Linked DNA regions of Homo sapiens: all the other regions are linked to region 5. The links are contacts of gene promoters, found by promoter capture Hi-C in human tissues and cell types (Jung and others, 2019). All regions are on one chromosome and are shown on one strand. The core of a region is centred on a gene start or on the middle of the fragment in contact, and the rest is flanking DNA. Distances in the headings are between cores, read along the strand shown.

Region 1 (2,723 bases), core at 153-2,652, 730 kb after region 5:
TCACATGTATTTAGTGCCAACTGACATGTTCACTTGAGGGTAGCTCTCTTAGAGAAGCTCTGTCTTTGACGTTAAGCACCTAGACCTGGCATCAGGAAGGGCAGGCCTGCCACAGCTCTGCCTCTTTCAAGCTGCGAACCCTGTGTGGAGTTTCCCGATAAAATGCAGGGCACCCAGTTGTTTGTATTACAATTGAACAATACTGTGTGGGTGATACACATACAGATTCTTTATCATTGTTTTTACTGAATTCAAATTTAACTGACCTCCAGTGTTTATATCACATTGGTGCACAAGTCCTTGTGGGTTTTGCCATTACTTTTATTTGTAAAACCTGCAATTACTTGTGCACCAATTTAATATTTGATAAATTTTAGAACCTTACCTCCAGGCCACAAAGCATTACCTCTTCAATCACGGTCTACTGCCTGAAAAGCAATAATAAAGCTATTGTCAGGATTAAATGAGGTCACATCCTCAGGAATTAAAAAGCTGTTGATTGATAGTAAGATTGCAATTGTTCTAAATCTTAATGCAACCTGTCAAAAGCTCTGGGATACAGCAAAAGTGGTGCTTAAAGGACAGTTTATAGCATTAAATACCTACATCAAAAAGTCTGAAAGAGCACAAGTAGAAAATCTAAGGTCACCCCTCACAGAACTGGAGAAACCACAACAATCCAAACCCAAACCCAGGAAAAGAAAAGAAATAATGAAGATCAGAGCAGAACTAAATGAAGTCAAAACAAAAAAAAATACAAAAGATAAATGAAACAAAAAGCTGGTTCTTTGAAAAGATAAATAAAATTGGCAGACCATTAACGAGATTAACCAAGAAAAGAAGAGAGAAGACCCACATAAGCTCAATTAGAAATGAAACGGGAGATATTACTATTGATACCACAGAAATACAAAAGATCATTAAAGGCTACTATGAACTCTTTTATGTACATAAACTAGAAATCTTAAAGGAGATGGATGAACTCCTGGAAATATACAACACTACTAGGTTAAACCAGGAAGATGTAGAAACTCTGAACAGACCAATAACAAGCAGCTAGATTGAAATGGTAATAAAAAAAATTGCAAACAACAAAAAATCCAGGACCAGATGGATTCACAGCTGAATTCTATTAGATATTCAAAGAAGAACTGGTACCAATCCTTCTGACTCTATTCAACAGCATAGAGAAAATGGGAATCCTTTCTAAATCATTCTGTGAAGACAGTATCATTCTGATACCAAAACCAGGGAGGACATAACAAAAATAAACTACAGACCAATATTTCTGATGAATCTAGATGCAAAAATCCTCAACAAAATACTAGCTACCCAAATCCAACAGCTGTCTTAAAGATAATCTACCATGATCAAATTGCTTTTATACCAGAAATGCAGAGATGGTTTAACATCCACAAGTTGATAAATGTGATACACCATATAAACAGAATTAAAACACAAAATCACATGATTATCTTAATAGATGCAGAAAAGGCATCTAACGAAATCCAGCATCCTTTATGATTCAAACTTGGCAAAATCAGCATAGAAGGGACCATACCTTATGGCAACAAAAGCCATCTATGGCAAACCCACAGCCAACATTATACTCAATGGGGAAAAGTTAAAAGCATTTCCCCTGAGAAATGGAACAACAAAAGGATGCCCACTTTCACCACTTCTATTCAACGTAGTACTGGAAGTCTTAGCCAGAGCAATCAGACAAGAGAAAGAAATCAGGGATATCCAAACTGATAAGGAGGAAGTCAAACTGTCACTGTTTGCTGATAATATGATTGTATACATAGAAAACCCTGAAGACTCACCCCAAATGCTTCTAGCACTAGTGAAAGTATTCAGCAAGTTTTAGGATACAAAATTAAAGGACACAAATCAGTAGCAGTGCTATACAACGACAGCAACCAAGCTGAGAATCAAAGCAAGAACTCAACCCCTTTTACAATAGCTGCCAAAAAACTAAAATACTTAGAAATATACCTAACCAAGAAAGTGAAAGACCTCTACCAGGAAAGCTGCAAAACACTGCTGAAAGAAGTCACAGATGACACAAATGGAAATACATTTTATGCTCATGGATGTATAGAATGAATATTGTGAAAATGACCATACTGCCAAAACAATCTACAAGTTTAATACAATTTCCATCAAAATACCACCATCATTCTTCACAGAACTTCATAGAACTAAAATTCATATGAAACCAAGAAAGAGCCCCGGTAGCCAAAACAAGTCTACACAAAAATAACAAATCTGGAAGCATCACATTACCTGACTTCAAACTATGCTATAAAGCCATAATGACCAAAACAGCATGGTACTGGTATAAAAATAGGCACATAGACCGATGTAACAGAATAGAGAATGCAGAAATGAAGCAAAATACTTAGAGTTAACTGATCTTTGACAAAGCAAACAAAAACATAAAGTGGGAAAAGGAGACGCTATTCAACAAATGGTGCTGAGATAATAGGCAAGTCACACGTAGAAGAATGAAAATGGATCTTCATCTCTCATCTTATACAAAACTAACACAAGATTGGTCAAAGACTTAAATCTAAGACATGAAACCTTAGAAATTCTAGAAGAAATTGGCTTAAGCAAAGACTTTATAACCAAGAATCCAAAATGAAATGCATTAAAAACGAAGATAAATAGATGGGACTGAATTAAATGAAATAGCCTCTGCACAGCAAAATAAACAG
Region 2 (3,009 bases), core at 433-2,932, 660 kb after region 5:
TAGCTGACTTCCTGTTCTGTGATCTAAAGGTGAATTTGATTCATTCCCTCTCCTCTCCCTTCTGGCTAGCCGTTAGTGGAGAATGAACTGGCCATATTCTCAGCCACAGCTGTAAAGCAAGTTTCCCAAGGGGAAGAAGCCCTAATATCTATAATTTGAACTGTACTGGACCCATAGTTTTAACTGAAAAGGGCCAAACAAGTGGTGTCTGTCCAGTTCCTGGACTGGGCTAAATTTAGTTTTCCCACTGTTAAGCTGGAATGAGGACTGTCCCAACAACAGTAGGTACAGTGGACAAAAATAGCCCAGGGTGACTGACTGAATTTAAACCCATAATGGCTTTATATTTTTCTGTGCATATATATCTTACCCTAATTGAACATGTGAAGCTTGCAACTTTATGTCTTGCTTTGGACATGAATGTATTACAGCTTGCAGCTATTCTGTTAAATGTATAGTTTCCCAGTTTTTTGACACTAATGCTGTTTGGGTCTTACCTGACACACACCAGTGTGCAAGAAATGTCTCTCTAATTCAATAAGTTTTAAGACTTAGAGTTAATGTCCTTCATCTGATCTATCCTATCTAATCTGTACTATGGGTGAATCTTTTTCCCTTGCTCTCCCCAGGGGCTGTTTCACAGTATTCTGGAGTACCTTTTGAGTATTGGTTCCTGAACATCAGCAGTCTTGGCTGCCTCTGTGGACTCCCGGAGTTGTCTCCCTGCTTGTGTTCTGGTGCCATCCTTTGTTCCTCCACCCCTGACCAAGGTGCCCAGCAGCCTGTCTTCACCAGTCAAGGAATCCGCCATCTTGGCTGTAGACATACATAGGTCTGGAGAAATCTCTCCCTTTTTCCTTGATTTCTTTTTAAAGGTACCTTATCTCTCCCCACTCCTTTCTTCCCTCCTCAATCTAGTTAAATTTCCTAAGCTTTCACAAAAATCCGGGAAGAGATAATTAAGAGCTTAGCATCCCTCTTAGAGTAGAAGGCAGTACAGATAACAAAGAAGTTGTGAGTATATTATCTACATTTTAGAAAATTTTCTGACTCTAGATCCATAGATTCTGTTGTATTTATTTGCCGGACACTCATTTGATTGATTTGCACCTTGAACACTATACTAGGTCTTTTCAGTTACGTTGCTTGGGTTAAGACACTTTGCTAAAATTACAGCCTGAATCCTTTCTTTAGTTGAAGAAAGGGTATGTGTGTGCAAGTGGGTGTGTGTGTGCCAGTTTTTCTTGTCTCAGGTAGATACTCCCACTGTGTATAAATAGATCTACAGACTTTTCATACTTACCTCCCGTATTCTGTTTCTGTGGTAAAAATATGAAGTGTTTTAGTTGTATGTTGAGTGATTGGTTGGTATTATCAACACTGTTGTTTGCAGTCTCATTAAAGCATGCTCTTAAGGAGTACATATGGTCATTAATTGCCAACTGTAGATTCCAGTGATCTGGCCCCTGCCTACCTCCTTCCTCTCTTTTTCATTCTCTGTCATGCTTCTCCACTGTTTTCCCCAATGATGCACTATTTTGACACACTGGCCTTGCTATTCCTTAAGCAAATCACATTCTTCCCAATCCAAAGACTTTGCACATGCTGTTGTCTTTCTTAGAATGCCCTTCCCCTAGGCCTGCATGGCTTGCTACCTCACTTAATTGTTTGACACTTCCTTTGGTTCATTGAGCTTCAAGGCTCTTAAAATGCCACTGACAATGAGATCTCCCTTTAAAAAAAAAAAAAAACTTCTACTTTTCCTCTTAAAGGCACTTTACTCTCTCCCCACTCTTTTCTTCCTCTTCAAAGTATTTAAATTTCCTAGGTTTTCATGAAAAAGCTGGAAAGCGATCATCATCAAGGGCTTTGCTTCTGTCTTAGAATTGAGCTAGCTTGAGTCAATTTCTGTGCCTGCAACCAAATGAAAATTAATATAGTGAGTTCTTTCAGGAGCTTTCTCTGTTTTTCTATTGATACCTCTATATATTTTTAAGGCAATGTCACTTTGTTTTGTTTACAAATATATTGAATATGTCAAGATTACTATTTTGTTATTGCCCTTTGTGAATTTCCTTGTCTATTTTGCTCGCTTGTTCTTTCAGGTGAAATTTATTATTTTATTAATGTTGCCAAAAATTATAAGTAAAATATCAATTATAGTAATAAAATGTTTTGTGAAAAAAATGCTGTTGCTGTATTGTTTTTCCACCATAAGTAAAATGGGACGTTTGTTTTGTTTTTTGAGACAGAGTCTCGCTCTGTGACCCAGGCTGGAGTATAGTGGCGCGATCCCAGGTCACTGCAATGTCCACCCCCTGAGTTCAAGTGATTCTTCCTAGCAGCTGGTACTATGGGCGTGTGCCACCATGCCCAGCTAATTTTTGTACTTTTCGTAGAGACGAGGTTTCATCGTGTTGGCCAGGCTGGTCTTGAACTCCTAGCCTCAAGTGATCCGCCCACGTTGGTCTCCCAAAGTGCCGGGATTACAGGAGTGAGCCACCATGCCTGGCCTATTTTTAGTTTGTAATTTTTATTTAGTACCACTGTATAATCTTTGCCTTTTTGCCACTTGTGTTCATTTTTAGCCTTATTGCTACCACCAGAACTTTTTTTTTTTTTGAGACAGAGTCTCGCTCTGTCAGCTAGGCTGGAGTGCAGTGGCCCCTGATCTCGGCTCACTGCAAACTCTGCCTCCCGGGTTCACGCCATTCTCCTGCCTCAGCCTCCCAAGTAGCCGGGACTACAGGCGCCCGCCACCACGCCCGGCTAATTTTTTATATTTTTTTTAGAAGAGACGGGGTTTCACCATGTTAGCCAGGATGGTCTCGATCTCCTGACCTCATGATCCACCTGCCTCGGCCTCCCAAAGTGCTGGGATTACAGGCGTGAGCCACCGTGCCCGGCACTACAGCCAGAACTTCTAAACAATATTTAAGATGGAGTTAATGGGCTTCTTTGTTCTTGGCTTTAATAAGAAATGATTTGCCCTTAAAGGTAATAAGTATA
Region 3 (2,978 bases), core at 341-2,840, 690 kb after region 5:
AATAAAACAATTCCCATATTTGATCATTTGTTGCTTTTTCTTGTGTTTAGTCCTTTCATTATCCCTCCAATATTTTAACATGAGACCTAGAAGGCTATCAGAGGGAATTGTGTTATCTCCTTTGCCCTTTGTAGTTCTTGTTTTACTAGGGTATTTCATATCCTGGAAGTTAATGGGGGCTCATATCTCTCATATTAGAGATTTCTTGCACTCCCGTCTTGGAGGTTAATGGGGGCTCAATCTCTCGTATTAAAGATTTCTTGCACCCTTTTCCCTGGAGGCTCAATCCCCGCTACTGGAGGTTTCTCGCTCTCCTTTCCCTGCTGAGTGTGCGTGGGGCTCAACCTCTCCTACTAGAGATTTCTTGCACCATTTCCCTGGGGCTCAACCTCTCTTACTAGAGATTTCTTGCACCCTTTACTTTACTCCACACTCACTTTGCACTTAATTGTGCATCTCATTCACACATTTTCAACCTGCAGAATGTCCTGACCACTAAGGAAGTACTTCACTGCCCTAGTGGTTTTTCTTACCTTTGTCTGTGCACAGTTACCTGGTCGCCACGGTAACTGTAGGCCTTTTCTTCCTGTGTTGCTGAGAGTCTGGGTTTATTTATCATGCTGGGTGGGTCCTGATTCCTTACCCCTGAGGCCACTGCAATGAAGCAGTGGGATGCATCTCCTCCTAAGAGGTGATCAGAGGCCCTTCCTCAGAGGAGAATGGGAATCCCAGATGACCCCCTATTTTGTTAGAAACAAGAGCTCAGAGTCGCAAGGAAAATGAGCACTCAGACAAAATATTTCTCAGCAAGGCAAACTTATTTCTACAGAAGAGTGCCGCTTGCACTTCTGACCACTGCAAGAGCACACCAAACAAAGGAGGGAAGGGGTTTTCATCCCTAACGTGGTTAGTCCCTGCTTCTGTGTCCTGTCCCCATTGGCTGGAGTTGGACCACACAATCTAAACTGACCTGATTGGCTACTGTTTAAAATTGAGTATGGCTAATTAGGTGGGAAGGGAGAGGCAGTCCATTATGGTACAAGGTATGTTTGGGCATGTCAGGGCGTGGCAAATGTGGGAAGGGTAGTTTTGTGGGAGGGGCAGTTTACAGAATGGGTAGCAAGGAGTAAAAGAGGACTCTTTCTAAATAAGGAGGAGATGTGAGTTACAGATTGGGACTGGTGGGAGAAGTTGTTTACAGAGCAGGTAGCTTAGGAGAAGGGACAAGGAAGTTCATCTCGAGAACAAAGAACAATGAAGTCAGAAATTAAACCTTTGAAGAGGTACTTACTGTGTCTGACAGATTCACTGGAAATACAGAGAATTCTGGAAATACAGAGAAATACAGATTCTCCTGGAAAGGAGAAGAAGAAGGTGCTGGCTGAGGTGAAAAAACAGAATCAATCAACTTCGGGCTTCTTCAGTTCTAAGCATATCTGAGAGGTTCAAGAAAGAGATAAAAGTATGAGTGTCAACTTCAAGGACAGATGCAGAAAAAATGCCAATGAGTTTCCTGTTATAAAGCCCTTGATAATTAACTCAAGAGATTAGAGGGGAGAAGTGGGTGGTAGCAAAGGGAAAGAGAACAAAGAAGGGAATTCAGGAATCAGAGATGTGGAAGGGGAGAGGGTAAGGATGGGCCACATTATAGGAAAGGCTGAAGGAGGAGCCAGTAAGAGTGTTGGACAGGAGCCAGAGGGAAGGTCAGGTTTGTTGTTTGTTTGCTTTTGTTTTTGCTCTCAAAGAAAGGGGAGCCTTTCCTAGCTTTGCAGCTGTCCTCCCTGGTCATCTCCCTCCATGGAGTGTGGGGTTCTTCTATCATGCAAGCTGGTAAATTCCCTATGTCAGAGATTTCTCCTAGGTTCTTGCCTGCCAAGGATTCTCCTTATTTGATACTAGTCTTATGGATATGTTGTCGTTTTTCTTATTATTATTAGAGACAAGGTCTCACTCTGTTACCCAGGCTCAAGTGCAGTGGCATGATCATAGCTCACTGCAGGTTTGAACTCCTGGGCTGAAGCTCTCCTCCTGCCTCAGCCTCCTTAGTACTTAGGGCTACAAGCATACAGCACTATGCCTGGCTAATTCATTTTTTATTATTTAAAAAAAACTATAGAGAAAATATCTTGCTATGTTGCTCTTGGCTGGTTTCAAACTCCTGGCTTCGAGTAATCTTTTTGCCTCAGCTTCCCAAAGTGCTAAGATTACACATATGAGCCTCCACTGCTGGCTGGACTTGTTATTATTCAAATATATATGTGGATTTTGTGTGGCAGGCACATGTGAGAAATGCAGAGATTGTGTCCTCACTCCAGACCCACTGAATAAGAATCTGCATTTTATAAAATCCCCAGATAATTTGTATGCACAATAGAGTTTGGGAAGTACTGTTCTAACACATGCATGGAGACATTGACGTAGTTTTCAATATAAGTTGTTCCTCGTACCTGAATCTATTATGCTCCAGCAAACATGAGCAGGAAATTCTTGTTTCTCTATTTTCTGCATTGTGAAGTCAGGCATAATGTACTCAAGGCTTTCCATAGAAAATTGCAGGCATTTTGTTTGACTTCACTAAATCCACAGAGAAGACCAGGAGCATTTTAATAATAGCCCAATGTCACATCTTTGTCTGACAAGCAATTTGAATTACCCCAAATTATAATTTTTCATTGGTATTCAAATAAAAATAAAATTAGCAACTACTCAAATATTTTACCCTTTCAAATAAATGGAAAACTACTTACATTAACATTAAATGACAGAGCAAAAAGCTGTATAAAACCAGAGGAATGAGCACAAGGTTTGATAACCATTGTGAAAATATTGACAACAAAAATGAGAGAATGCATCCAAATGAAGAAATGTACTTCTATTGATTATCTGGGATAAGGTAGCTTTGCAGAGAACTTGGTGATTTTTAATACTTTCTGATTCCACATAATAGGCATGTATTGCTTTGAAAGTAACTCAATAAA
Region 4 (2,700 bases), core at 66-2,565, 670 kb before region 5:
CCAAAATCTTAGTAAAGTGCCACGGAGAACCACAGTGGGAAGAAGTCGGCCCAGGCTCCATCTGGTGCACGGGGCAGAGGCATCCCTCAGTCACAGGAGGCATCCCTCCCGAGGCTCCTCGACCCCAAAGACTATTTTCAGGAACCCTTTGTAACATGGCTCTTATTTTTATACATCAATGTTTTCCTAAAATGGAAGCCAAAGGCACAGCATCAGATCTAACCAAACCACTGACCTTTTTAGGGTCATCACATGTGCCAATTTCACCTACTTCTCATATCTTCCTATTTTCAAAGCTCCCCTCACCCTCAAGGCATAGTCTGGCAGTGGCGGCTCAGCACAGCAAGGATTATGCTATAGGCTCTGCAGGGTGCAGGCCTGCGCCCAATCGCCAGCCTCACCATTTCTCAACTGGCCAGTTTGCAACTTCCGCAGGTGATCTCAGCTCTCCACGTGCCCACCTCTTCACCTGTAATATGGCCACTAAGGCAGCATCTTATTGGGTTACTAGGCCCCCCTGGAGCACTCAGCCTGGCCCAGCCAATCAGCTGCCTTCACCTCCTCTAGACCTCCGGGCTTTGCTCAGAGCCTGGCAGTGCCTCAGAGACACCCCCTGAATGTGTCCGGAATATAACACTTTACTATGAGAACTCAGCCTATGCCCTTCCTGGGGGATTGCAGGGAGCAAAGCCAGGTGTTATGACTTTCCAGATGATATGGAACCCAAAGACGGGCTTCTGCTGAGGCCTTGGTGTACCCTCAGTGCTCCATGATGACACCCACCCTGAGGGCCAGGAAGGCTCCAGTGCTGGGTGAGAAGTCACCTACCTTGATGATGACGCGCTGGTCTGACTGGTCCTCCAGGATGCTGTCCGTGGGGTAGGACTCGATCTGCTGTCTGATGGCAGAGGCGATGGCTGGCACAAACGTCAGCGGGTTCAAATCCAGATCGTCACAGAGGATTTCTGAAAACATCTCAGGCGTCATCAACTTCTCTGAAATCAGGAGAGGGAAGGGATGCCAAGAGATTGCACCATGCTTGGGCATGGACCGGCCTCCCTCACCCCTTCTTCTTTGAAGCCAAACATCTCCGGATGCAGGAGAGGACAACCAGGGCACTGGGGGTGGCCTTCCTGGAAACTGGGAGTGGAAGGAGGAAGCACATGACTAGCAGGCCCCCAGCCCTCATCCTGCACAGACCTCCTGCTCCATGCCCTGGGGGTGGTCATGGCCATAAACACTTCCCTCATTCCACTCATAGCTGGGTGGGCGCATGAGATTATCCCAACTAATGAGATGATCCAGGCGAGGCCAGCAAAGGCACATCAAAGCTTGCGTGCCATCTCTCTACTCCCCTCTGTGCTGAACTGGTGGCAGACGTGATGGCACAGAGGCTGGCCCAATACCAGGCCTCATGTGAGCAAAACACACTGTGCCAAGCCACAGCGATTTCCAGGCCTGTGACTGCAGTAGCAGCAGCAGGGCCTCAACAAGGTCACAAGCGTGGAGGTCCCTACAGATCCCGGATCCTGGAAAAGGAATTGTACCAGATGGGAGCTCACAGGGACCATCTGTGGCCAGCCAGACCTCAGCAAGGTCCTCTCAGTCAACATTCTCTCCCTGCTCCACCCAGACCGTACTGACAAGACGCCTTGCAGGAATAAGCTGAAAAAGCCAAGAAAAATTGCCTCAGAGCAGACAGTAGGATTCCATCATCAAGAAGCAGGTCGGCCTAACAGACCACAGCCCCACTATCTCCTCCCTGCCCTAAAGACACGCTGGAGACCAGCATCCTAACAGCCTGCGGGGCAGCAACAGCAGGAACCTCAGGTGCACGGGGTAAACACCCAGTGAATACACTGCCCAGAGCATTTTAAAATTTTTAAGTAATTGTAGATTCATGTACAGATGCAAGAAACAACACAGAGAAATTCCATGCACACTGCGCCCAGTTTCCTCCAAAAAAGACAAGATAGAGGACTGTATCTGTATCCAGTGATTCATCCAGATTGTCACTTCCTTTTACTGCCAAGTGACATTCTGTGGTACGAAGGGGCCTCACTTTAACTATTCACTCACTGAAGGCTATCTAGATCATTTCCAGTTTCCCGCTATTATAAATAAAGCTGCTATGAACATCCACGTGTAGGCTATTGTATAAACATGTCTTCATTTCTCCAGGATAAATGCTCAAGGTACACTGGTTGCATGTTTAGTTTTTTGTTTGTTTTGAGACGGAGTCTCGCTCTGTCGCCCAGGATGGAGTGCAGTGGCGCTATATCGGCTCACTGCAAGCTCCGCCTCCCGGGTTCACGCCATTCTCCTGCTTCAGCCTCCCGAGTAGCTGGGACTACAAGCAGCCACCACCACGCCCAGCTAATTTTTTGTATTTTTAGAAGAGACAGGGTTTCACCATGTTAACCAGGATGGTCTCGATCTCCTGACCTCGTGATCCGCCCGCCTCGGCCTCCCAAAGTGCTGGGATTACAGGTGTGAGCCACCACGCCTGGCCGCATGTTTAGTTTTTAACAGAAATTGCCACACTGTTTTCTAGGGCAGTTTTCCAGCCACTTTACATTCCCATCAGCAGCTTGTGAGTGACCCAGTTCCTCCACATCCTCGCCAGCATCTGATGCTGTCACCACTTTTTAAAGATGTGGAATAACAGTGTAATTTTAATCTGCATTTCCCTAAGGCTAA
Region 5 (2,889 bases), core at 38-2,537:
CTAGGCATGAGTGTAGAGTGGGGAGAGCTGATGTGGCTGCAGGGCCAGGAGAGCACTGCAGACGTAATGACTCTCTACCTTAGGGAAGCTGGCGATGACACGGTCGCGGCTCACAGGGGGCCCCAAAGGTGTCAGGGAGGACCTCATTCTTCCACAGTCCTGTGGACCCAACCAGGAGAAAGACAGTTAAGGAGCTGTGCAAATACCTGGGGATTCACCCATGAGTTTCCACCTAACTTTTCATCAGATCCAGGCTGGGTGCAGTGGCTCATGCCTGTAATCCCAGCACTTTGGGAGGCCAAGGTGGGAGGATCACTTGGGCCCAGGAGGTTGAGACCAGCCTGGGCAACAAAGTGAAACCTCAGTCTCTACAAAAAAAAACCAAAAAAATTAGCAGGGCATGGTGGCCTGTGCCTGCAGTCCCAGCTACTTGGGAGGAAGGTGGGAGGAATGCTTGAGCCTGGGAGGTCAAGGGTGCAGTGAACCGTGAAGGTGCCACTGCACTCCAGCCTGGGTGATAGAGTAAGACCTTGTCTCAAGAATTATAAATAAAACCAGATCCAGGCTTCCCTCTCTGTCAGGAATATGGGGCAGAGGCCATTTCTCTCAATCTGCATACAGCAGGCAGCATGGTATGGGGGAACCAGGCCTGCCCCACCCTGCCTGGGAGTCAGAAGACCTGGGTCTCCCCTTGACAGGTGTCTACCAAGGAGGAGCTCCCCTCTGAGCTTACCTTACTGGGCTGTGAGGCATGGCACAGCTCAGGCAGTGGAAGTAGAGTGGGGAGGGGTCTCCTGCTCCCAGTCTGCAAAGGACGAAGGCTCTAGGTGGGCCTGGGGGCCTTAACTTTCAGCCAACTAGGCCTTTTCCCTGAAAACCCTCACTTCACCAGGCCTCTGACTCCTCGAGCCTCCTCAACAGCCCCTCTGTCTCCTTTTTCTGTCCGGACTCCTCTCCAGGCTGGGCTGGGGTGGTCCTGGCGGAGTCCGGTTGTCTTCCCGCATCTGACCTGGCTCTCCTCCACAACCAGCGCGGGCCTGGCCCAGAGTTTGCGCTCCGGAAATGAGGACGCCCCGGGGCCGCAGGCCGCTTTCAAGTTATAGGGGCGGGAAGTGGGCGCGGACGCTGTGCCCTCGCGGCCCTGGCCTCGGGATGTGCCAGCACGGGGTTGGGTGACCGGGAGGGTCGGACAGAGTGGGCGAGCTGACTCACCAGCGATGGCTGTGAAAGCTGGGGCTCCGCGCGGCCTGGTCCGCCTGAGCCAGCGGCGGCGATCACCATGGCAACGAGAGCCACGCGGGACCTGCGGGCTACACGAATCGTCGACGTCGTGGGCGGGGTCTGCGTTGGACTGGCAGCGGCGCGTCCAAGCATCCAGCTTGCACCGGCGATCACCATAGCAACGAGAACCTGCCTGGAGTCTGGGCGGGGCTGGCAGCAGAGAGACTCCTGGACACCCTGGAGAGCCGGAGATCACCATGACAACAAGGGCGGTGCTGGATGGGTGGGCGGTGGGCGGGGCTATGGAGGCCCGGGGGCGGAGCCTGAGCCCTGGGTGGGGCTGACCGTGGAGAGATTCGCGCAGGTTCTGGTGATCAGCTCGGCTGGGAGAGGTTGGGCGGTTATGGCATAAGAGCTCCTGATGTGGTATTGATGTTTAATTGGAGTCAAGCACCCTGCAGCTGCAGAAGATAGACCTGCCTACCATCTACTGACCTTAGTCTGCATAGTTCTGAATCCAGTGCTGTCTGAATATCATATGCCTGGCTTCTAGAGCTCACGGTACAAAATTAATTTCCTTAATAAAAAGCTGACCTGAGTCAGTGATTTCCTCTGAACTAGTTTCGGTTTGGAAAGTTAGCTGTTTTGGGCTAGATGGCCTCTTGTGGCCCTTATAAAACCGTGGAACCAGCTTCGAAGTCCGGGGTTCAGTTTGAGAACCTACTTAATTCAGCTCCTTAACTTTTCTGCATCACAATATGGAAGCCTTGGTACACAGATCTAACTCAGTCATCTTCAATTCAAAGCTAAGTGTGCTGGAGGCTGGTGTTTGATGTCTTTTTTTTTTTTTTTTAAAGAGATGGAGTCTTGCTATGTTGTCCAGGCTGGACTCGAACTCCTAGGCTCAAGGAATCCTCCCGCCTCAGCCTCCCCAGTCCTTGGGACTACAGGCAAGGGCCACCACACCTGGCTCTGTTTAATGTCTTTTAGTGAGTTTCACTGCTAAGGTTGAGGCTTAGGGGGTGAACTTAGGTGAGTTGTTCCACCTTCCGCACCTCAGTTTACTCAACTATAAAATAAACGCAACTATCTATTTCAATGGATCACCTGAGATGGTGAAAGTGCTTTTATACTGTAAAGCTTGATTCAAGTCCATTAACTATTCATTTGTCCTACATGTACTGAAAGCTTCCTGGTATATGCCTAGCACTGGGGAGACAAGGAAAGAGAACGGACATGGTGTCCACCCTCAGGGAAATTGGAGTCCACTGCGGGAAGCAGAGAAGTAAATAGAGAATTAGGGGAAGGGAGTGTGCCAATGGGATTTAGGAGAAGGGAAGATTAAGCTGTGGGGTCACTTACTAATTTGGATTTGGGGATTTGGCAGGAGCTAGAGATCACCCTGAACTCCTCCTTTAGCTGTTTTTTTTTTTTTTTTTTTTTTTTTTTTGAGATGGAGTCTCACTCTGTCGCCCAGGCTGGAGTGCAGTAGTGTGATCTCGGCTCACTGCAATCTCCGCCTCCCGGCTCAAGCGATTCTCCTGCCTCAGCCTCCCGAGTAGCTGGGACCACAGGTGCGCACCAACCATGCTTGGCTAATTTTTAAATTTTTTTAGTAGAGATGGGGTTTTGCCATGTGTGCCAGGCTGGTTTTGAACTCCTGGCCTC
Region 6 (2,826 bases), core at 260-2,759, 770 kb before region 5:
CAATCTTATTTCAAGGGCTTCTGGATGTGGTGGACTAAGTCTAAGACTAGGGGGTCCAGAGAAGACCCCATCCTTAGTAACCCTTGTCAATAGGGAGACTTCTCACGGAATCTGCTCTTTGGGTTTGACCCTCTGTCTTCATGTTCATGCCTCATTCATCTTTGTTAGGTTTTGAAGGGAAGGTGAGGGTTAAAGAGTTGGCAGCTTAACAGCAACACAGGTTTATTGCCAGCACAAACCTGTGGAGGGGGGACCAGCTTAGTCTCAGAGCACGAGTCCCACTTACAGACTGGGACATTTACTATAAGGAAGAGGAAAGCAACACGAAGGGTGGCTGGGCAGTCAACAAGGACAGGTTTATTTTAGAAAATAAACTTGAGAGGGGCTTCTGGCCGAGTTAGCTCAGACTAACTTCTGTTACAGACTAAGGATATTTAAGGGTTTTGGAAGGGGTCTTATCGTAGGTTCCGAATGTTTCTGTGTGAGGGAAAGTTTATTGCGGGGTTGGAATGTCTCTGGTCGGAAGGGAGGCTGTCTCGGGGTTGGCATGTTTCTGGTCAGAGGGGTTTATCTTAGGGTTGGAATATTTCTGGTTATGCTGACATTAGCCATTAGGCTGATGTTTTGGGGCTGGATTTAGGCGGCTTTTAATGAAGGGGGAACTTAGAATGGTGGTATTTGTTCAAGATGGCAGTGCTCCTGCTCTGTCAGTTATGGGTCTGGACCGGGGGAGAAGGGGCAGTATAGCTTGCTCCCCTGCAGGATGTTGAAGATGTTCCTTGGGCCCTTCATCCAGCAGGATGTAATAGAGATGTTCCTGTGGTTAGGTGGTTAGGCAGTATTTTTTTATGACCTGAACCCCCATGGAATGTTTTATTCTGACCAGGTTCTGTGAAATGTTGGGAGACATCTGCGGCCATACTGTAAGGCTCTTGTGTTGGTTCGAACCCCGAGAGCTTGCCAGCAAAGAACACAAGGCAGTGTGGAGCAACACGCTGTTTTAATGAGCACCTGGGTGCAGATGGGCTGAGGCCTAAAATGGCGTCAGCCCCAGGTGAGGACGGGGCAGGGGTTTTATAGTCTCCTGTAAACAGGAAGTGTCCCAGTCTGATGTAACTGCTACATGGTACCCAGATGGCCTCTCTCTTGATCTTCAGGGGTACGTGTCTCCTGGCCAGCTCTCTTCCTGCTTCTGCTATCTTGCTGACACACGCTGCTAGCACAAGTGGTCTTGTGCCTTGGGACTGGGCCTGAGAAGGGAGGAGTTATTCATCCCCCCAAACTTTCAGGCCCCGGGGAGAATCTTTCACATACCACCCTGAACACGCCCAATCTCGTCTGATCTCAGAAGCTAAGCAGGGTCTGGCCTGGTTAGTACTTGGATGGGAAATGATCACAGGGAGGCTTACAAAATGGTATAGGATATCTTGTGGTTTAAGCCCATTCCCTCCGGGAAGACCTTGTTGGTTTTCTCCCTACAGAACCTGCTGTGTACAAAATGGTGTAGGATATCTTGGGGTTTAAGCCCATTCCCTGAACCTGCTATGACATTAACTGAACAGCTCCTGGGGGTGCATCCCAATAGGGAAGTTATTGAGCTCCCAATGTTTTCGTGAAGCTGCTTTGTCAACTGTGAAATAATTATTGCCCTGCCCACTCCTGGGGTTGTTAGAGACCCAGTGAGATACTAAAAGTGTGTTTAAAGCATGTAGGGTCTGCAAATGCAATAAAGTGTGGTCAGAAAGCCCAACTCACGTGGCTTTGGGGGCCACTGGTGAGAGAAGAGACTGGAGGCAGCCTGTTGTGGTCAGAGCCTCCTGCTATTGTCAATTTCTCCTCACTGTCCCCTTTACCAGGAAGGCAGTGTCAGTTTGATCAGCTGCCAGTCTGTTTGCCCTCATTCCCCCTGGCCCTGCCCTGAGTCCAGCGACCTGGATTTGAAACCTGCATCTGTCACTTACTAGCTGAGGGATCTTGGGCAAGACATTTCAGCCCTTTTCTGCTTAAATAGAGTTAAGACAGCCTATGAATGAAACTATATAAACCAAGGCATTTCTGACTCCAGTAGGAGGCAGCTGCTGTGAGGGAGAAGCCCTGGCCAGGAATCTGTTATAGTTATTTTGTCACCAACTGGAATGGCCTTGGGACAAAGCACAACAGCTGTCTTGACCTCATCAATAGCCTTGACCTCATCCCTCGTGTCATGCTGTGTCATCTTCAACATCTGTCACTTCCATCAGCCTTAGCATTGGCCTTGGCCTCAGTTTCCTCATGTGTGACTTGAGGATGATGATTCTTATAGGAATCAATAAGCTTGGGATAAAGAAGCTATTGGGTCACATTATACATACTTTAAATGCATTAAGTGGGGTCTGCAGTTCCTAGAGATTAGCAGATTGCATTGCGTGAGAACAGAGCCATAGAGAATGTTTGAGGTCCCATTAATAGCTGATAGGAGGCTGATCAGTAAACACTGGGAGGGGAGGATTGACTCTTGGGTGAAGAGTTGGAGGAGGGTGGAGGATTGAGTCTTGGGTGAAGAGTTGGAGGGTGGAGGATTGAGTCTTGGGTGAAGAGTTGGAGGGTGGAGGATTGAGTGTTGGGTGAATTGAGTCTTGGATGAAGAGTTGGAGGGTGGAGGATTGAGTCTTGGGTGAAGAGTTGATTGGAAAACAAAGCTGAACAGAAAACCAGGGCATCATCAACACTGATGAGTAATTTTTTTTCTCTATAAAATGATTATTTAGATTAAGAAAAGGAATGACAAATTTTGAAAAGCCGACAAACACCACAAACTCCAGAAAAAAAAGAATCCTGACATTTTTA
Region 7 (2,868 bases), core at 218-2,717, 710 kb before region 5:
CTTGCCATAGGTCTGGAGACAGGTTGGTGACAGGGGCCCTGGCTGCCCATAGTTCCAATAAGGCCTAAGTAACTTTCTCTAAGGCTGGAAGCCTTAGGAAGAAGCCAGGTGAGAAACCTGGCATCTGGTCCCATTGAGGCCAAATTACAGCTCCACGGGGGCCGCATGGAAGTGAGAGCTCCCTTAAGACAGCAGATGTGAAGGAAGCAGCGAACACAGTGCTTGATGGCAGCTGAGCTCATGTAGCAGGAGATATTGACAGGTCTCTAAGACTACAGGAAATCGTTGAATTCAATGAGATCATGCATGGAGATTGCCTATACCGTGCCTGGTCATGGTAAGCATTCAGACATTAGCTACGATAGGGACCATTAATTCAGCAAACAAAGATTTATTGCCTCCCTATTATGGTCAATAATCCTACTGTTCTAGGTGTTGGGATACAGCAGTGAACAACAGACAAAATCCATGAGCTGTCAGAGCTTTCCTTCCAGCAGAGAAAGACAAGCAATCGCAAAATGAACAAGCAAAATATATAGTACATCAGCTGGTGCTACAGAGACTTAAAGCAGTGAAGGGGCGTAGGAAGTGTTTGGACCAGGTGGTGCTATTTTATTTTATTTTATTTTATTTTTATTTTTTAGAGACAAGGTCTCGCTACGTCGCCCACGCTGGAGTGCAGTGGTGAGATCCTATTAGATCCCTGCAGCTTCGAACTCCTGGGCGATCCTCCCACCTTAGTTGGTGCTATTTTAAATAAGGCTGTCAAGGAATACAAGTGCAAATCAAGACAAAGGAGGTGAGGGAATGTGCCATGCAAATACCTAAAGAAATCAGTCCAGATTGGGAAGGAACCCCTAGAAGCGGTGGGCAGTGCAGTGCGGGCGCTCTCCTCTGGCTGCGCCCTTTCCCTCTGTGAGGCAGGACGTCAGGTCAGAGCTGAGGGAGCATGAGGAGGAAAGAGGCGGGGGTGGGAAACAGTCTCGGGAGGGGGCGAGCAGTCAGGATTGCAGCGCTCGGAGGGCTTACTGCCTCTGAGGTCAGGGCTGATCGGCAGAGGATTTAGCATCTCTGGGGGCTGGGATGCCAGGGTCCAGCAACCTTGCTCTGGCCCACAGGCCGACCCTGGGCGTAAACACCTGCCTATGCACATCTGAGCCTAGCACCTAACGCCACTGTACATACAAGCACGATATTTTTGAACATTTGACGACTTAGTTAAGCCTCCCAGGTGGCTGCACCTGCGCAGTTCACTCAGGTCCGCAATCCCTCATCTGAAACGCCTGGTCTGGGCAAGTATGAGAATTCATACCATTCTAGATCGCAGGAGGGCGTGGAGCATTCGAAAGAGGGGCCTGAGCGGAGGTCTTGCTGTCCCAGGGAGACCCCGGCTGCCATTAGCAAGCGGTGAGCCGGCAGCCTGTGCGCGGAGGGAAGGGCAGCGCGCAGCGCCCAGTGGTGAAAGAGGCGCTAGCGCACGCGCAGTGAGCGTTTGAGAGGAGCAAACCCGTCGAGACGAAGCTGTAGCGCAAGCGCAGTGGGTATTGAGAGCGGCCGCACCAGCTGAGGGTTCGCGCAACGCTAAACGATGGCCGGGACTAAGGCCTGAGACTCAAGCTCAGGCGCAGTGAAGCGCAGAGCCGCTAGAGTGTCGCGGAGGGCGCCTGAGGCGCATGCGCGGACTCAGCGTTTTTAAGAAGGGCTGGGGGTGCTGGGGAGTTCGCCCCAGCGTGTTGGGGGGGAGTCGCCGCCGCGGGGGGGGGGTTTGGGGTCACCGCCGCGGGGTTTGTCGCCGCCGCTGGGAGCTCACCTGCGTCCGAGGCCGTAAGGACGGCTCCAGTTCATCCTCCATCCGCCTCTGCCGCAGCACTGAGGCTGAAAAGCCGCTCACTCCTTACTCGGCTAAGCCCCAAGCTCATCTCTGCAGGCCGGAAGGGAGCTCTGGTCCAAGGTCATCTCGGCCAAGCCCCTGCATTCGCCCTCGCAAGTGCCAGCAAGCGACTCTGGTCGCCGCGCTCCCAAGTCCTCCCCCGAAATTCCGGCTCTGGCCCCTCGTCCCCCTCCTTTGCTACAGTCTCTGGACTAAATGTCTGCGGGTCTCTGTCTCTCGCTGGTCTGACCTCAGCCGCAACCCTGCGCGATTCCCTGCGCCGGTCGCCACTGCCGGCCGCCAGAACCTCGGAGGCCACTGCCCCTGGGCGTTCTCCGGAGGGCCAAGCCCTTGGTTGTGCACATCTATGCACGCCCCACCTACACCCCCCCCCCCCCACACACACACACTTTGGTTCAGGTATCCCCGACCTTTCCCCAGAGGACGGGAAAATTAGGAAAGACCGAAAGATAGACCCACCAGTCTTCGGAGCGCTCTCATCTGTGCGTCCTGGGCAGAGCGAGAGACTTGGCGGAATGCGGGTAGGAGAACCGGTCTCGGGTTGCCGCCAGGGGATCCATTGCGTGAGAGGCAGGTCCGACTTATGCTGGGGGCACTTGGAGTTGAGGAACCACAGAGTCCACTGAACCGGATTAATCTTTTATCCCTCAGGGCTTCTCAGGCCCTGCATGGAGGAATCCAGGAGCTGGACAAAGACCAACTGAAACTAGACTTGCCAAAGATGCTATTTGTGGTCACAGAAACATAGAGCTGGACATGACCTTAAGAAGTCACCTGAGCAGACACTGTGATGGGCACTGTAGTAGCTCTATTGCTCAGACTTGGTTTTTGTTTGACTTTTGCTGCTCTGAACTTTAATTCCTAAAAACACTGCATTTTTAAGGAAAAACACAAAATATTAGCAGTTATAATAAATAGGTATTTTATTGCATGCTTTTCGTGCATCTATTAAGATGATCATATGGGTATTCTCCTTT

Evidence for each region. Contacts are between HindIII fragments. The study calls those that stand out against the background at their distance.
Region 1: a contact is called between a fragment that was not itself captured here and the fragment with the promoter of RAB36 in region 5, in 1 of the 25 tissues and cell types used here (small bowel).
Region 2: a contact is called between a fragment that was not itself captured here and the fragment with the promoter of RAB36 in region 5, in 2 of the 25 tissues and cell types used here (bladder and mesenchymal stem cells).
Region 3: a contact is called between a fragment that was not itself captured here and the fragment with the promoter of RAB36 in region 5, in 5 of the 25 tissues and cell types used here (dorsolateral prefrontal cortex, hippocampus, liver and 2 more).
Region 4: a fragment that was not itself captured here is called in contact with the fragment with the promoter of RAB36 in region 5 in 1 of the 25 tissues and cell types used here (dorsolateral prefrontal cortex).
Region 6: a contact is called between a fragment that was not itself captured here and the fragment with the promoter of RAB36 in region 5, in 1 of the 25 tissues and cell types used here (dorsolateral prefrontal cortex).
Region 7: a contact is called between the fragment with the promoter of SLC2A11 here and the fragment with the promoter of RAB36 in region 5, in 2 of the 25 tissues and cell types used here (IMR-90 fibroblasts and dorsolateral prefrontal cortex).

Annotation. Positions count from the first base shown.
Region 1 is chr22:22,412,335-22,415,057 of GRCh38, reverse strand. It overlaps IGL. Among named protein-coding and RNA genes, the nearest start is that of ZNF280B, 95 kb to the left of the region's middle. The HindIII fragment of the contact is 9,595 bases long and covers 1-2,723 here.
Region 2 is chr22:22,483,599-22,486,607 of GRCh38, reverse strand. ZNF280B (zinc finger protein 280B) reads left to right here. Exons shown (of 4, transcript NM_080764.4): 4 at 1-2,187. It also overlaps IGL. Among named protein-coding and RNA genes, the nearest start is that of ZNF280B, 24 kb to the left of the region's middle. The HindIII fragment of the contact is 3,491 bases long and covers 1-3,009 here.
Region 3 is chr22:22,451,040-22,454,017 of GRCh38, reverse strand. It overlaps IGL. Among named protein-coding and RNA genes, the nearest start is that of ZNF280B, 56 kb to the left of the region's middle. The HindIII fragment of the contact is 8,338 bases long and covers 1-2,978 here.
Region 4 is chr22:23,815,065-23,817,764 of GRCh38, reverse strand. It overlaps SMARCB1 (SWI/SNF related BAF chromatin remodeling complex subunit B1), which reads right to left. Exons shown (of 9, transcript NM_003073.5): 6 at 829-995. Among named protein-coding and RNA genes, the nearest start is that of DERL3, 23 kb to the left of the region's middle. RefSeq lists enhancers at 832-1,333, 1,334-1,835. The HindIII fragment of the contact is 6,101 bases long and covers 1-2,700 here.
Region 5 is chr22:23,143,875-23,146,763 of GRCh38, reverse strand. It overlaps RAB36 (RAB36, member RAS oncogene family), which reads right to left and starts at 1,287. Exons shown (of 11, transcript NM_004914.5): 1 at 1,213-1,287; 2 at 79-159. The coding sequence starts at 147. It also overlaps a transcript of RSPH14 not described here. RefSeq lists a silencer at 1,465-1,534. The HindIII fragment of the contact is 15,551 bases long and covers 1-2,889 here.
Region 6 is chr22:23,910,006-23,912,831 of GRCh38, reverse strand. No RefSeq gene overlaps it. Among named protein-coding and RNA genes, the nearest start is that of MIF-AS1, 12 kb to the right of the region's middle. The HindIII fragment of the contact is 3,077 bases long and covers 1-2,826 here.
Region 7 is chr22:23,856,474-23,859,341 of GRCh38, reverse strand. SLC2A11 (solute carrier family 2 member 11) reads right to left here and starts at 1,467. Exons shown (of 12, transcript NM_001024939.4): 1 at 1,313-1,467. The coding sequence starts at 1,342. The HindIII fragment of the contact is 17,543 bases long and covers 1-2,868 here.